Regions from separate parts of the Homo sapiens genome. Here regions 2, 3 and 4 are each linked to region 1. Evidence: promoter capture Hi-C in 16 types of primary human blood cells and fetal thymus (Javierre and others, 2016). All regions are on one chromosome and are shown on one strand. The core of a region is centred on a gene start or on the middle of the fragment in contact, and the rest is flanking DNA. Distances in the headings are between cores, read along the strand shown. Region 1 holds the start of MOB3B (MOB kinase activator 3B). Region 2 overlaps PLAA (phospholipase A2 activating protein). Region 3 overlaps PLAA (phospholipase A2 activating protein). Region 4 overlaps LINGO2 (leucine rich repeat and Ig domain containing 2).

Region 1 (3,481 bases), core at 736-3,235:
GTAGCTACTTTGCTTTTGCCCCAGTTCTTTAATCAATAATCCACACTAAGAATGAACACAATGTGTAAGCATCTGACTTGTGCAGGGAAACAGGGCCGCCTGCAACCCAACAAGCGCACCCACAGGGGAACTCGGGACCATCCTAAGCCACTTGTTCTCTGGGACGTGGAAGCAGGAACTGTGCTCTAGCCGTATCTGTGTTGCGTCGTCTGAGTCCTCTTTTTCTACAATGAAGAAAGGGGACTTGGGATTTAAACTTGGAGCGGTACTCAAAGCCAGAACTCCACGTTCATTCCGGAGTGAACCACCACACTACTATTTCCAGGCAACGTCATAAGGCTTCCTCGTTATTTGCATCTTCGTTCTCTTTTTGGCGACTAGCCTGCCCTCCCGCCCTTGGAAACTTGTGGACCCCAGAATCTCAGCTTTCCGCCTACCAAAGGTGCCCCGATCCCCTCCCACTGCCCTAGCAGCGGCCCAGCCCCAACGCCTTTGGCTAGAGATTGAAATCCTCTGGAACCAACCACTGGACGCTCTGGATTGGGGCGGAACGCGCTTCCACTGTCTCGAAAGCAGCACCTTCTCGGATTTGAGCCTTTGCGGCGCGCCTGGGCTGAGATCTGAGAAATGCGCCCTGGGCCACAGGCAGCAGCGGAGGCGGGGAAGGAACAACTTTCCCTCCGCCCTCTAACCACAAGGGCGGGGTGGGGCGGCCTCGCTGGGGTCGGGCTCCTCCACTTTCCCAGCTGGGATCCCCTGCCGGAGCTGGCGTGGGGGCCGGGGAGGGGGACCAGAGGGGCTTCCTTCTCTCCCCAAGCCCCGCCAGATGTTGGAAAGGCAAACAATAGGGGAAACGCGGAGAAACAAAAGGCCATTCGCCACGATCTCAGTCGGCTGCGTAGAGAGATCTCTGTGGGGAGGGTTAGGGGAGAGGGTCAGGAAAGAGCGCGAGGGGGGGGATCCCGAGAGATTTAGAGTCTCTGGTACTTGCCAGGCACCAGGGGTCGGCGCTTTACCCTCCCAGCAGGGGTCTGAAGGTGGGAAGGGGCAATCAAAGAAAACTTGAAGGGTTTTCACCTTCTTCCCCAGTTCAGGGAAAGGGAGGGGCTGGGATTCCAGATGTTTGACAGTTGTTGGCCCCAAAGTTAAGCGCGATTTGTACGGCCTTTACACGCTCCCCACCTCCGTGAGGCATCGTCAGCCCCGGGGGCGACCTGGCTGACGGTGCGGACTTCCCCTACGCTGCCCCAAGCCGAGACTCCTCCCTCAGGATCAGGACGCCCAAGCGTTGTCCCCCAGCCCAGGCGCACTTTTGTAAAAGTTTGTCTTCCCGCCACCCACAGCCCAACACGCACCCTGCAGGCGTCCGCGGCTGGGGATGGGCTCGGAGTCTTGCACCCCGAAAGAAGGACGATCTTATTGATTTATATCTTTTCAAATCAAGGACAAATCAAGATCCCGGGGTGGAAAGTGGGCGACCCTTGTTCCTGCCGGGAAGTGCACACGAGGAGCCGGCCAGAAACCCAGGCGCCGGCAGGGGTCTGAAGAGGACTCCAGCCCCGGAAGCCCGTGGCCGGCGGGCAGAAGACCGGTCCGCCGCCTCCCGCACCTTCTTGCACCCGCGCCCAGGTGCGCCCCAAACCTCGCCGCCCGCCCGGGCGAGATCGGGAGCGAGCAGCCACCGGGCTGCGCCGCCTCCCCTAGCTTGGAGCGGGTTCTTACTCACCGTGGGGTTTTACCTCCAGCCCAGGGCCCGGTCGGCTCCCTTCGCCGGGTCAGCTGCAGCCAGCGCGAAAGAAAATGGTGAGCTCGGGGCAGGTGGGGCGTCGCTTGCCAATCCACGCAAGGGACTCTGCCGCCGGTGCGCGAGGTCCCGGCGAGCCAACCGGCGGACGGGCGAGCGCCTGGCTCCAGCTGCAGCCGCCGTCGCTCCGGAGCAGCCCCCTCATGCACCCAGCGCGCCGCGCAGCCGGCCGGGGCTCGACTGTCTCGCGGGGACGCCGAGCGGGGACCCCTGGCGGCCGCCTGCGGTATGGCAGCACCGTGGAGAGAAAAGTCGTCTTTGGGATCATCTTCCCTCCGGAAAGAGATGGGACATGACCAGTCTAAGGGGGCTTCCAGCCTTGCAGAAAAGACACTGGGCCAGGGCAGTGAAGAAGGTGTCAGATCAGAAAGGATGATCTCTGGGTCCACAACGGCCACTTCCAAGGCACCTAGAGAGGGGGAAACAGTTTGCCTTCCCCAGGATTTTCTGATTGTTGAAAAATACCATGAACTGCCTGACACAGAGCGGAGCATAAATCATTGGAAAATACTCAGATTCTAGTGGATTTACTAGAACACACTGGGAGTCATGGATGAACCTGGATTTTAAAGCTCAACCCACAGCCCGCCACTCTCTACTTGTGTGGTCTTGGTCTATCTACAACCTTAAAGCCTCAGTATTCTCCTCCGTAAATTGGCGGGGAGCAATATCACCCTTGCAGGGTGATGGTTACGGGTAAACTACATTTGAAACGTTTTTATAGTTTATAGTAACAGAAATCAAATATGAGCTTCCTGCCTTCTGGAGAAAAAGAATTGGATCTTTCACATTTTTCTATTACCCATATGATCACATCTTAATGCATATTGATTGAACTGTACCAAATGACGAAGTACTGCATTTTACCATTCTTACTACACACTTCAAAGAGGTGTGGAAATATATTAAGTAGAAATTAGGATATATAGAGAAAACATCCCTCCTCCAAAAGAGGTTTCTGCAACTAACTACGAAGTGAGAACTTCTAAAATCACTTACATCTTTTGCAATATCATCTCAGATATTGTAAGAAACATTTAATAAATAGTCATGACTTAATGATATCAACCCTGGATTAAATGACTCTAATTCTGTGTCACTTTTGTGTAATGTAAAGATACCGATTGTGAATATAAGACTCAAATATGGGAAAACTGCCAGATACAAAAATACAGCCGCTAAGCAATATTTCTGTTCATCACCGAGGAATCTCATTTCCAAAGTGCCCCAGTTTTTAAGAGGAAGAACACCAGAGTCAGACAGACCCATAGCAGCTGAGTCTAACCTTTCTGAAGCTCTGTTACCTCATCTTATAAAATGAGGATAATATAGGTAGCTGTCATTCAATGAAGGAATGCATACAACATGCTTAGCATAACACCTGTCACATGGTAAGTGCTCCAGGGTCACCACCTATCATTGTTTCCAGCATACAGTTATCACCCCACCGACATGTAGCCCCTCCCTCATGAGCTCAAGAGCCCCCAGCACGTGTTCTACTCACACACGCACAAGCTTCAGTGTCCCTTAAGATGTTATCTCCTGGAAAGTAGGAACAGAAAGAGAATATTTTCAGGTAGTTTGGAACAGAATGAATAACATTCACATTCCTTGCCCAAGTCAGTACAGATTAATTTCCATCATTTCCAACTCATACTTTATACATTTCCCATAAGA
Region 2 (3,481 bases), core at 681-3,180, 620 kb before region 1:
ATCATCCAAATAAGTATAATGAAAAGTTCCCTGATGGAAAAGTACAGGATGCAATGAAAGATAAGAGTAGGCGATCTAGCAAGGACACATGTGGGTGTTCAGAAAAGTTTCACTGAGCTTATCTAATAAATACTGTATTACAAAATTAAATAAAAAAGAAAAGGGAGAAAAACAGCCAATAATTTGTGGTCTAAATGACAAGGCAAAGGGCAATGCATAAGTATGCCAAAAGAAAACAGTGAGTTCAAAGCTCTGGAGGTAGAAAATACTATTACATGCTCAAGAAACTGACACCAGCCAGTATGGCTGGACAGAAGAAAGGCAATGAGGAATGTGGGGCAAGGCAAAAGAAAAATATTCACTGGGAAGCCACTGAAGAGTTTTTTAATCAAGGGAGGTGCATAAACAGAGTAAACAATAAAAAGATCACTGTCTGCAATATGGATCATCGAGAGACCAATTTGGAAGTTATTTCATTATTCCAGGCGAGAGGTGACATTAGCTTGTACTAAGGTATATAAAGCTTCAATATACACACCATGCTGTTAAAAACTAACTTCTGGAAAATGGGAGGGAGCACTGTTAACCTTTGTTAACAAGTACAGCTAACAATTACTAAGCATTAATTTGGTAAAAAGTTATTTACATAAATTTTATAATTTTAAGTTCTTAATTCTAGGAAGTAGATATGACCTCAACTTTGCAAATGAGAAAAACAAAAGCACAGACACATCAAATAAATTGTTCAAGGTCAAGCAGATAAAAAGTAGTAGAGCTGAGATTTGAATTTAGATTCTCACTCCAGAATCCATAATCTTAATTACAGGTACTATGTTATACTTCAGTATTGCTAACCAATGTTACTTTTGCAATTAAAAAATAGCTTACAAAATCACATGCCAAGTGATGGACATGGTAGTGTGCGCATGTAAACCCAACTACTCAGGAGGCTGAGGTGGGAGGATCATGTGAGCCCAGGAGTTTGAGCCCAGCCCAGGCAACAAAACAAGATCCCATCTCAAAAGTAATAAAAAATAAAAACACATGCTAGGTTAGTTATTGAGTGGTAGGTTTATGGGTGTTTATTTTAATGCTGAATAACATATATGTTACTCAATTTCTCTCATATAAATTACAAAGAACATAAAAATTAACTAGAAAAAAATATATGCCAAGATATCTGTCAAACCTGAAAGAGATGAACCACAAATTTAGCTCTGTGTTTTACTGGCAGCCAATACAGAGGAAAACATGCCAGCACATATTCAATGAACAAGTGAGGTATGTCAGACTGTAGACTAGGTAACTAAGGATTAAAAAAAAATTAGTTGCTCAGAAGAACTATAGCTATTCCAGGCATAAATCACAGAAGCAAATTCTTTCCTGAGTCTTCTTAAAGAGAACAATGTATAATCCAGTGAATAACATTCTCAACACATTAAGAATGAAGAGATGAGAATAAACACAGACTTTGTAAGAGTAGTGAGGAAAGCAGATTTACGACAGTAAAACAGTAGTTTCCGATCCTAGATGCATATTAGAATCACATTGGAAGATTATAAAACTACCCTTTGCCAAGCCCCCATCTCAGAGCAGAATTAGACCAAGTAAGCATCTCTGGGGATAAGGCTGAAGTACGTTTGCAAAGCTCCCCAGATGATTCTAAAATGTAGTAATCAGACAATTCTGAGAAAACTCAAAAAGCCAGACAAGTTTGGTCTCGATTTACTATATAAAAAGTTCTCAAGCAAGAAAATGACACAAATTTTCTTACTCTTTTTATTAAAGTTCCAACGAATTTTTAAAATCTAAAAAAAAGAAAAAGAAATAAAAAGTATGTACCTGTAAATGGATCAACTCCGGCCATGGTAGTTCCCATACTTGCAGAACCTGGTACATAACGACCAGCACCTACAATACAATAATACTCCTAGTAAGCAAAGGTGACTGTAAATTATAAAGTTCAAACTGCTCCTTCGCTTATTTCCAGTATTAAGCACACTTCACAATGGCGTCATTATATACATAATAAATATGCCACAAATTTAATACAGAAAAGTGCTTAGAACAGTGCCTGAGCATATCATAAGTGTTAGCTACAAAGTAAACATTACATGCCTTATATATTATAATTGTAGAAGTTTAGTAAACTACAAAAATGTAAGTGGATTGGAGAGAAATAAAAGTTTCCAGAATAAAATGTGAACACTATTCTATTGAAGTAAAGGGGTGGGACTAACTAGCACATAAGACAATTGGAAAAGACTCAGGTAAGAGTTAGAGATACTATGACAACAGCCCAGTCACATTTTATTATAGATAATACTTGTGGCTGTCCTATTGAAAATAGAAAGAAGGAAACTTAAAGAGTAAGTATAGAGAGAGAATCAGCAGGATTTGGAGATATTCAGAATAATGGATCAGCCTTTATGGGAAGAAGAAAAATGAGCTACTGTTCTAGCCTCTCTCAATTTATACTCTAGGAGTTGTTACAACCGGCGCAAAACATACAGAAATGCCAAAGAAAATTAAAAAAGCAAAACCAAAAAAAAAAAAGTAAGATTAATTAAAATAATGAGAAACACAGAATAAATGGATTTGTTGAAATTTAACCATATGCCAGTTAATCATCTTCTATGCATATATTCATTAAAGTATTATATAGATACCATTATAATTCACAATATTTTAGAAGCAGAAGGTTGAATAACTTGCCCAAGGCATTAAGCTGTTAAAAGGTAAAGTACACTCTCACACTTTTCTAAATATGGTTTTCTGACCACCTGAATGAATCACAGATTCAATACACAGATTCCCAGAGTCCACCCATAACCCAGGGTTACTCCAAACTGGCTCCACTTTAGAAACACTTGGGGAACTTTAAAAAATAAGATCGCTGGGCATGGTGGCTCACGCCTGTAAACCCAGCACTTTGGGAGGCTGAGGCGGGTGGATCACCTGAGGTCAGGAGTTCGAGACCAGCCTGACCAACATGGATAAACCCTGTCTCTACTAAAAATACAAAATTAGCTGGGCATGGTGGCACATGCCTGTAATCCTGGCTACTCGGGAGGCTGAGGCAGGAGAATTGCTTGAGCATGGGAGGCAGAGTTTGTGGTGAGCTGAGATCGCACCATTGCACTCCAGCCTGGGCAAGAAGAACAAAACTCTGACTCGAAAAAAAAAAAAATCTAAGATCAAACTACCACCAAGATCATTTATTTAATTAGAATCCTTGGGTGAGAGATCAGAGCATGAATAATTTTAGTTTTAACCTCCTCATTAATCTAGTGAATCAGAATCTCTTGGCCATAGAACCCTGGGATAAGTAATTTAAACAAGCTTCCCAGATCATTCTAATAAACATTAGCAGTTTAAGGACTGCATAAATTAATAAGGAAAAGAAAGAAGAATTAAGACTGACTTTAAGTTGTAGCCAGATAGGGAAATCTTTTGGCCCCAGTGCCACTGACAAAGTTGG
Region 3 (3,481 bases), core at 333-2,832, 600 kb before region 1:
TTCGCCCAGCCAACCAGTGCCTTATTAACCATGTTGCCCTTTGACTGCTCCAACAACTACTGAAGCATGTGTGGAGAGAAAGCCCCATTAGCCTGGGTCCCTGAGAAAATCTGATGAACAGAGTCCCTTTATTAATCCATGTTGAACATGTAGGGTTAATGAGAAATACTCATATGTTACATCACTGAGATTTTTTTTTTTTTTTTTGAGATGGGAGTTTTGCTCTTGTTGCCCAGGCTGGAGTGCAATGGTGCAATCTTGGCTCACTGCAACCTCCGCTTCCGAGGCACAAGTGATTCTCCTGCCTCAACCTCCCACGTAGCTTGGATTACATGCATGCGCCACCATGCCCGGCTAATTTTTTTGTATTTAGTAGAGACAGGGTTTCACCATGTCAGTCAGGCTGGTCGTGAACTCCTGACTTCAAGTGATCCACCCACCTCGGCCTCCCAAAGTGCTGGGATTACAGGCATGCACCACCATGCCCAGTCTGAGATCTTAATAGTTGTAACTTGGGTGCTCTTTACATTCTTCCACAAATCAGTATGATATAATTGGATAAAATACCATTTCCCAGTAAAAGAAAAAAAAAAACAGGACTTCTTGGCAAAAGTGCTGGTTTGAGGTCTAGAGCAAGAAGTGTACAAACTGAACCTAGAACATTCTGTAATAAAGCAAGGAAGACTACTGAAGGTCTTATAAAAAGGTGACAGGAGCCAATTTAAAGAGGTTTCCAATGGCCAGATATGGAACAATTTGAGAACTGAAAAAAAAAAAAAAAATTCAGGAAACAACTCCTTCTGCAAACCAGTAAATAAATTGGGAGAAGGGTCAAGGAAAGCATTTATTCTGTCTTTTCTGTATAGAAGTCCCACATGGTAACCAGTTGATGTGGAAAGATCTATACAGAAAAGTCTTGGCGATCAAATGCAGAAATAATATTAGAATTACAGTACAATCATTTTGTAAACCTTAATAAAATATTGAATCTAGGCAATGATTATCAGTAGCTGCTAAAAATTACCATTATGTGAAAGGCTGATGGGAACTTTATAATGAAAGAAAGATACAACACTTGAACCCACTGATCAATCTTAATATCACAAAAAGATATTGTGTGCTTCCTGATGTGATACAATAGAAAATACAGAATACCACCTATACTGTTGCCAAAAACTTGAATCTGAACCTGATAAAGCTACTAGATCTATTTAACAGCTTACAAGAAATATAGGTGACTGAAGAACACATTAAAGGAAACAAGGCTTTAACCAGTAAAACTGAGATTGTGGGAAATTCTACAGCTAAAATAATCTGGTTTTAAGCAACAAGAAAAAAAGAAAGAAACTGACAGATTGAAAGATGTAGGGCTGGGCACGGTGGCTCATGCCTGTAATCCCACCACTTTGGAAGGCCGAGGCAGGCAGATCACCAGAGTTTAGGAGTTATAGACCAGCCTGGACAACATGGATCACCAGAGGTCAGGAGTTTGAGACCAGCCTGGACAACATGGTGAAACCCCATCTCTACTAAAACTACAAAAAACTTAGCTGGGCGTGGTGGTGGGCACCTGTAATCCCAGCTACTTGGGAGGCAGAGGCAGGAGAATCACTTGAATCCAGGAGGCAGAGGTTACAGTGAGCTGAAGATTGCACCACTGCACTCCAGGCTGGGCAAAAGAGTGAGACTCCATCTCCAAAACAAACAAACAAAACAAACAAACAAACAAAACAGATGTGGACCTTATTTGGGTCAGAATTCAAATGAACTGTAAAAAAAGATTTATGAGACAACTGGGTAAATTTGAACATTCACTGGATGTTTTTGTTTTGTTTTGTTTTGTTTTAGGTGTGATAACAATATTGTGGTTATTCTTTTGAGGACGTGAGTGTCCTTATCTTTTAGAAGGGTCAACAAACTAATGCTGGTGAGCCACCTGTATTTGTATACCTAACAAACTAAGAATGTTTTTTACGTATTGAAGTAATTGAGAGAAAAACAATCAAAGGCAATCTTCTAACGTGAAAATTATATGAAATTCAAATTTCAGTGTTCACAAATGAAGATTTATTGAAACACAGACATGCTCATTCATTTATTTACTGTCTATAGCTGCTGTGCACTACAACTGCAGAGTTGAGCAGTTATGAGAGCAACCATATGGCCTGAAAAGCAGAAAATTTATTTACTATCTGATCCTTTACAGAAAAAGTTTGCCAACCCCTGTTTTAGAGCCACATAATGAAGGATGTATTTATAAATGAAACAGCAGAATATCAGAAATTTTAAAATGATGTAGTGGAAGGAGGGGGGAAGATGAAACAAAAATAAGATATCTCTACTTCTGTGTACATTTGATTTCTATATAAAATTTTAAAAATCTGTATCCCTCTGTATTGAAGACTTCTCACACAAACACACATACAGGCACACAAACATTTAAAAAATTCTTTCTGTTTTTGGTCGGGCACAGTGGCTCATGCCTATAAACCCAGAACTTTGGGAGACTGAGGCGGGTGGATCACCTGAGGTCAAGAGTTCGAGACCAGCCTGGCCAACATGGTGAAATCCCATCCCTACTAAAAACACAAAAATGGGCCAGGCACGGTGGCTCAGGCCTGTAATCCCAGCACTTTGGGAAGTCAAGTTGGGCAGATCACAAGGTCAAGAGATCGACACCATCCTGGCCAACATGGTAAAACCCTGTCTCTACTAAAAATACAAAAATTAGCTGGGTGTGGTGGCGCGCGCCTGTAGTCCCAGATACTCAGAAGGCTGAGGCAGGAGAACTGCTTGAACCCGGGAGGCAGACGTTGCAGTGAGCCAAGATCACGCCACTGCACTCCAGCCTGGTGAAAGAGCAAGACTCTGTCTAAAAAAAAAAAAACCATAAAAAAGCTGCGCATGGTGGTGGGCACCTGTAATCCCAGCTACTCTGGAGGCTGAGGCAGGAGAATCGCTTCAACCCGGGAGGCAGTCCTGGCAGAGGCTATAGTGAGCCGAGATCACAAGATCACACCACTGCACTCCAGCCTGGTGACAGACCGAGACTCCGTCTCAAAATAAATTAAAATTAAAATTAAAAAATAATTTAAAATAAAAAATTATTTTTGTTGGCCAGGCGCAGTGGCTCACGCCTGTAATCCCAGCAATATGGAAGGCCGAGGGGGGCAAATCACAAGGTCAGGAGATCGAGATCATCCTGGCTAACATGGTAAAACCCTGTCTCTACTAAAAATACAAAAAAATTAGCCGGGCGTGGTAGCAGGCGCCTGTAGTCCCAGCTACTCGGCAGGCTGAGGCAGGAGAATGGCGTGAGCCCGGGAGGCAGAGCTTGCAGTGAGCCGAGATCACGCCACTGCATTCCAGCCTGGGCGACAGAGCGAGACTCTGCCTCAAAAAAAAAAAAAAAAAAAAAAAAATTTTTTGTTTTTAGAGACAGGGTCTCACTCTATCACCCAGGCTGGAGTGTGGTGGTGTG
Region 4 (3,481 bases), core at 474-2,973, 540 kb after region 1:
TGGGAAGAGCAGGTTGTCTAATGTTCATAACCTAAAGCCAAACAGAACTATTTTTGTGGTAGAGAAACTATTTCAACTAATCCTTCTGTTTTCTGATAATTTAAGCAGGACTCAGCCTAGAAACTGCTTTGCATTCAACCCATGGTGCAGGTTTTGATATTCCTTCCGAATGCCTTTCTTATACCACTCCAAAATGGAATTATAACTTCTAGAGTTTCTGGCTCTGTAATCTCACCAGATATTCTGATGAGAGAATGTATTCTGTCTACGTTGAGGAGCATACTGAAAGAGTAGCAGCATTTAGTGCCCAGCGAGCCTGATGTTGAGTTCATGGAGAAGGCCAGAGACATCCAACTTATGAGGTCTCCCCACTTCTATAGTGTGCTGGCTGGTCCCAGTGGGAATCTCATCAGCAGAGATTAACAGTGAGGCCATAAAATAGTTTGCTTAACTGCCAAATAGCCATGTGGAAAGTGAAAGCTCTTCCAGCAATTGCTGGTGAGTGTCGCCATTGCACTGCACAAATATACAACAGAGCAGGGGCAGCTCAAGAAGCCGCTCATAGTGGGCAACAGCAGATGGGCAGTGCAGAGCAGCATGCTCAGGATGCAAAAGCTCATGTCCGTCCACTCTCTTTAATGTCACACAGCGCTCTGACCAGGTTTCGCCAGATCACCTAAACCTGGAGAGATACTCCAGATCCTCTAACTCAATAAGAGTTACCCACTTTAGGTGGTTTAAGGACCCCCATTTCTACCAGCCATGTTATAAGCACAACTGCATATACACATTCCTCACTTCCTCAACCCTAGTCTATTAGTTTACCAGAAAACAAGTCATCATGAAGACAGTTTTTTTCCTGCGGTTGGTTGGAGTTATACCTCTTGGTGGAAGCAAATCAGGCTTCTCTTTCCTCTCTAATCCTTTTGACTATCAAGTTTATCTGACTTTAAAACTTACACATAGCCACATGACCTATACCAAAAACCAAAAAACAAATCCCAACACACATAAACATACATGTGCAAATAATCATTTCAGTTTATTTGATTGTCCTACAGTCCTGCCTTAAATCCCAGGATGGCTTTTCCATCTACATAATGCTAGGGAGTGATACTGATATAATAGAGATAACCTTGTTTCCACTTTAATTTATGTAAAATAGTAAATCATTTATAAACTAGTACTATAAACATTAGAAGTAACAAATTACTGTGGCAAATCTTATAACTACTGTAATTATTATGTACTTGGTGTTATAGGGCCATGGACCAGAATTACTATTATTTTGTTTTGTTCTGTTTGTTTTTTGAGATGGGGTCTTGCTCTGTCACCCAGGCTTGAGTGCAGTGGCATGATCACAGGTTCGCTGTAACTTTGAACTCCTAGGCTCAAACAATCCTCCTGCAACAGCTTCCCAAGTAGCTGGGACTACAGCATGAGTAATCATGTCTGCCTATTTTTTAAAATTCTTATTTTTAGTAGCGACAAGGTCTATGTTGTCCAGGCTGGTATCAAACTCCTGGTCTCAAGTGATTCTCATGCCTTGGCCTCCCAAAGTGCTAGCATTACAGGCCTAAGCCACCATGCCTGGCCCCAGTACTACTGTTTATAAAGTATATTGAGGAAGATGAGATAGTTTACATGTCTGAGTACCAACAGTTATCTTATGGAATCATCTAAGGGTGATGCTGCCTTACATGCACTTATAGCGGAAATTTGGAAGATGTATATTCCTCCCTTTTTCAGGCAAATTCAGCAGTTTACTGCTATTGGTGCCTTGGGGTTGAGGTGGGGCATATATGATCCTTGGGTTGTACATTTCAAGTGTGGTGCTCAGCTCTTAACAACTATTGCCAATCAAGTTTGCAGCCATAGTCACTACACTCATGTAACACGATATGGAGTAGGCTATGTTCTTTCTCATTTCTCTTTATAGTCCTTTAATATAGAAACTGCAACAACACAATCTTTATAGTTTTCTACTGTTGGTACCTTTTCAATCACTCTGCTACTCTTTGTACTTATTTACTCTAGCCTAGCTGCTAGTTAATTACTTTTTATGTGTAAATTTCTCTAGTCCTTACCATTTTGTAAAGTTTTTGTACTTTCCCAACTATTCTTTAGATGGTCTTAAATGTATACATTTATAATCATACGAGATAATTTTTATCAAATTCCTATCTGTGACAAGGGCCCCTAAAAACACTAGAAGGTGGGTATTGATAGGAAAATTAAGGCTCACAGGTATTGTGTACTTTGGCAAAAATTAGCCAATAAATGAGTGATAAAAACTGGATATACATCCAGGTCCATTTGGTTCTAAGAGCTGTCTGTCACAGCTCTTTCTGTGCGTCATTCTCTTCATTCTAACAATAAATATAGATGTAGATATAAAATATTGATATAAAATATATTTCTGAATTTTATTTATTATTGCAGAGTGAAAACTAAAAGAGTCAAAGACACTTCACCAATGAAATGACTATAACAGTTGGAGGCATTCAGTTCCCAATGTATTTGCATCCTATTATACACTATATAAGTCTTTAGACAATGTACATATGATCGTCTGGTTAGAGCAAAGATTTTCTTGAGACAAGATATACCAATCCCATCTTCATCCTCCTTCTACATATCAGTATTTACTTGCACTTTTTTCTATTCACTTAACACAAAGCATGATCTATTCTGGATGAATAATAAAGAATACTGACTCCTATTTTCCTTTTTGTGTGCTTTCTGGGAAAGGGACTCGCACAACATGTGTATGAACTGGCACAGTTGATGTCTTGCACACAACATGGAGAATCTGGAAAAGCTACTTCTCTATTCTGCATTCTGAGACCTGTCCTCTCTTAAGAAAATGCAGCTGCAAGCACACATTTCAACCTTCTTTAGGGGTGTTCCCAAGAGGTGACCATGCCAGGGAATATTAAGCAGAGTTTGCTCTTGTTTGTCTCAGAACATTTTCCATCTTTGAGTTTCAGCAGAAACCAAAACCTTCAAAATCCAAACCATATAGCTTACTTGGTGAAATGACAGCTCAGTACAGAAATGGATCTTGATGAACTATTTCAGCTAGACTAGACCTGTCAGGCCAAAAGGTTTAGTGCAATTTCTCTGGAGTGAAGAATCATATATCCCTTCCCAGTAGGACTTCAAAATATTCCATTTCCTGACTTTAGCTTTTAAACAATAGCCACTCGGTAAATGAAGCAGAAATTCTCCCTCTGATTTTTTTATTGTTATTCTTAGATAGTGAGGTAGGAACACAGAAAATATCTGTTATTTCATCTGTACCTTCTCCAGTGTAAAATACCCCAGAGTCTTGCTCAAACATTATTGCTGAGGGCCCAGGATCTGTTCTGTTTTTCAATATATCTGGGGCTGGGCCACTTAATGACCAGAAAGGGCAGGAATGGACAACGTAGCGGTACTCATGGTGCTTTTAGGCACTCTGATAGCACGATATGCCATC

The links. The method cuts DNA at HindIII sites, captures the fragments that hold promoters and counts their contacts. A CHiCAGO score of 5 or more calls a contact.
Region 2: a contact is called between a fragment that was not itself captured here and the fragment with the promoter of MOB3B in region 1, in 1 of 17 cell types (monocytes). The highest score is 5.6, in monocytes.
Region 3: a contact is called between a fragment that was not itself captured here and the fragment with the promoter of MOB3B in region 1, in 1 of 17 cell types (M0 macrophages). The highest score is 5.3, in M0 macrophages.
Region 4: a contact is called between a fragment that was not itself captured here and the fragment with the promoter of MOB3B in region 1, in 3 of 17 cell types (M0 macrophages, M2 macrophages and M1 macrophages). The highest score is 19.0, in M0 macrophages.

The regions. Positions count from the first base shown.
Region 1 is chr9:27,527,829-27,531,309 of GRCh38, forward strand. It overlaps MOB3B (MOB kinase activator 3B), which reads right to left and starts at 1,986. Exons shown (of 4, transcript NM_024761.5): 1 at 1,727-1,986. LOC124902107 (dapper homolog 3-like) reads left to right here and starts at 628. Exons shown (of 2, transcript XM_047424279.1): 1 at 628-898; 2 at 1,192-2,872. The coding sequence starts at 628. The coding sequence ends at 2,180. RefSeq lists silencers at 714-763, 1,734-2,033. The HindIII fragment of the contact is 3,596 bases long and covers 1-3,317 here.
Region 2 is chr9:26,912,037-26,915,517 of GRCh38, forward strand. PLAA (phospholipase A2 activating protein) reads right to left here. Exons shown (of 14, transcript NM_001031689.3): 11 at 1,843-1,911. Among named protein-coding and RNA genes, the nearest start is that of CAAP1, 21 kb to the left of the region's middle. The HindIII fragment of the contact is 2,819 bases long and covers 522-3,340 here.
Region 3 is chr9:26,930,392-26,933,872 of GRCh38, forward strand. All of the region lies in intron 2 of PLAA (phospholipase A2 activating protein), which reads right to left. Among named protein-coding and RNA genes, the nearest start is that of PLAA, 15 kb to the right of the region's middle. The HindIII fragment of the contact is 8,628 bases long and covers 1-3,481 here.
Region 4 is chr9:28,069,419-28,072,899 of GRCh38, forward strand. The region is part of intron 6 of LINGO2 (leucine rich repeat and Ig domain containing 2); the gene reads right to left. Among named protein-coding and RNA genes, the nearest start is that of C9orf72, 500 kb to the left of the region's middle. The HindIII fragment of the contact is 4,763 bases long and covers 1-3,481 here.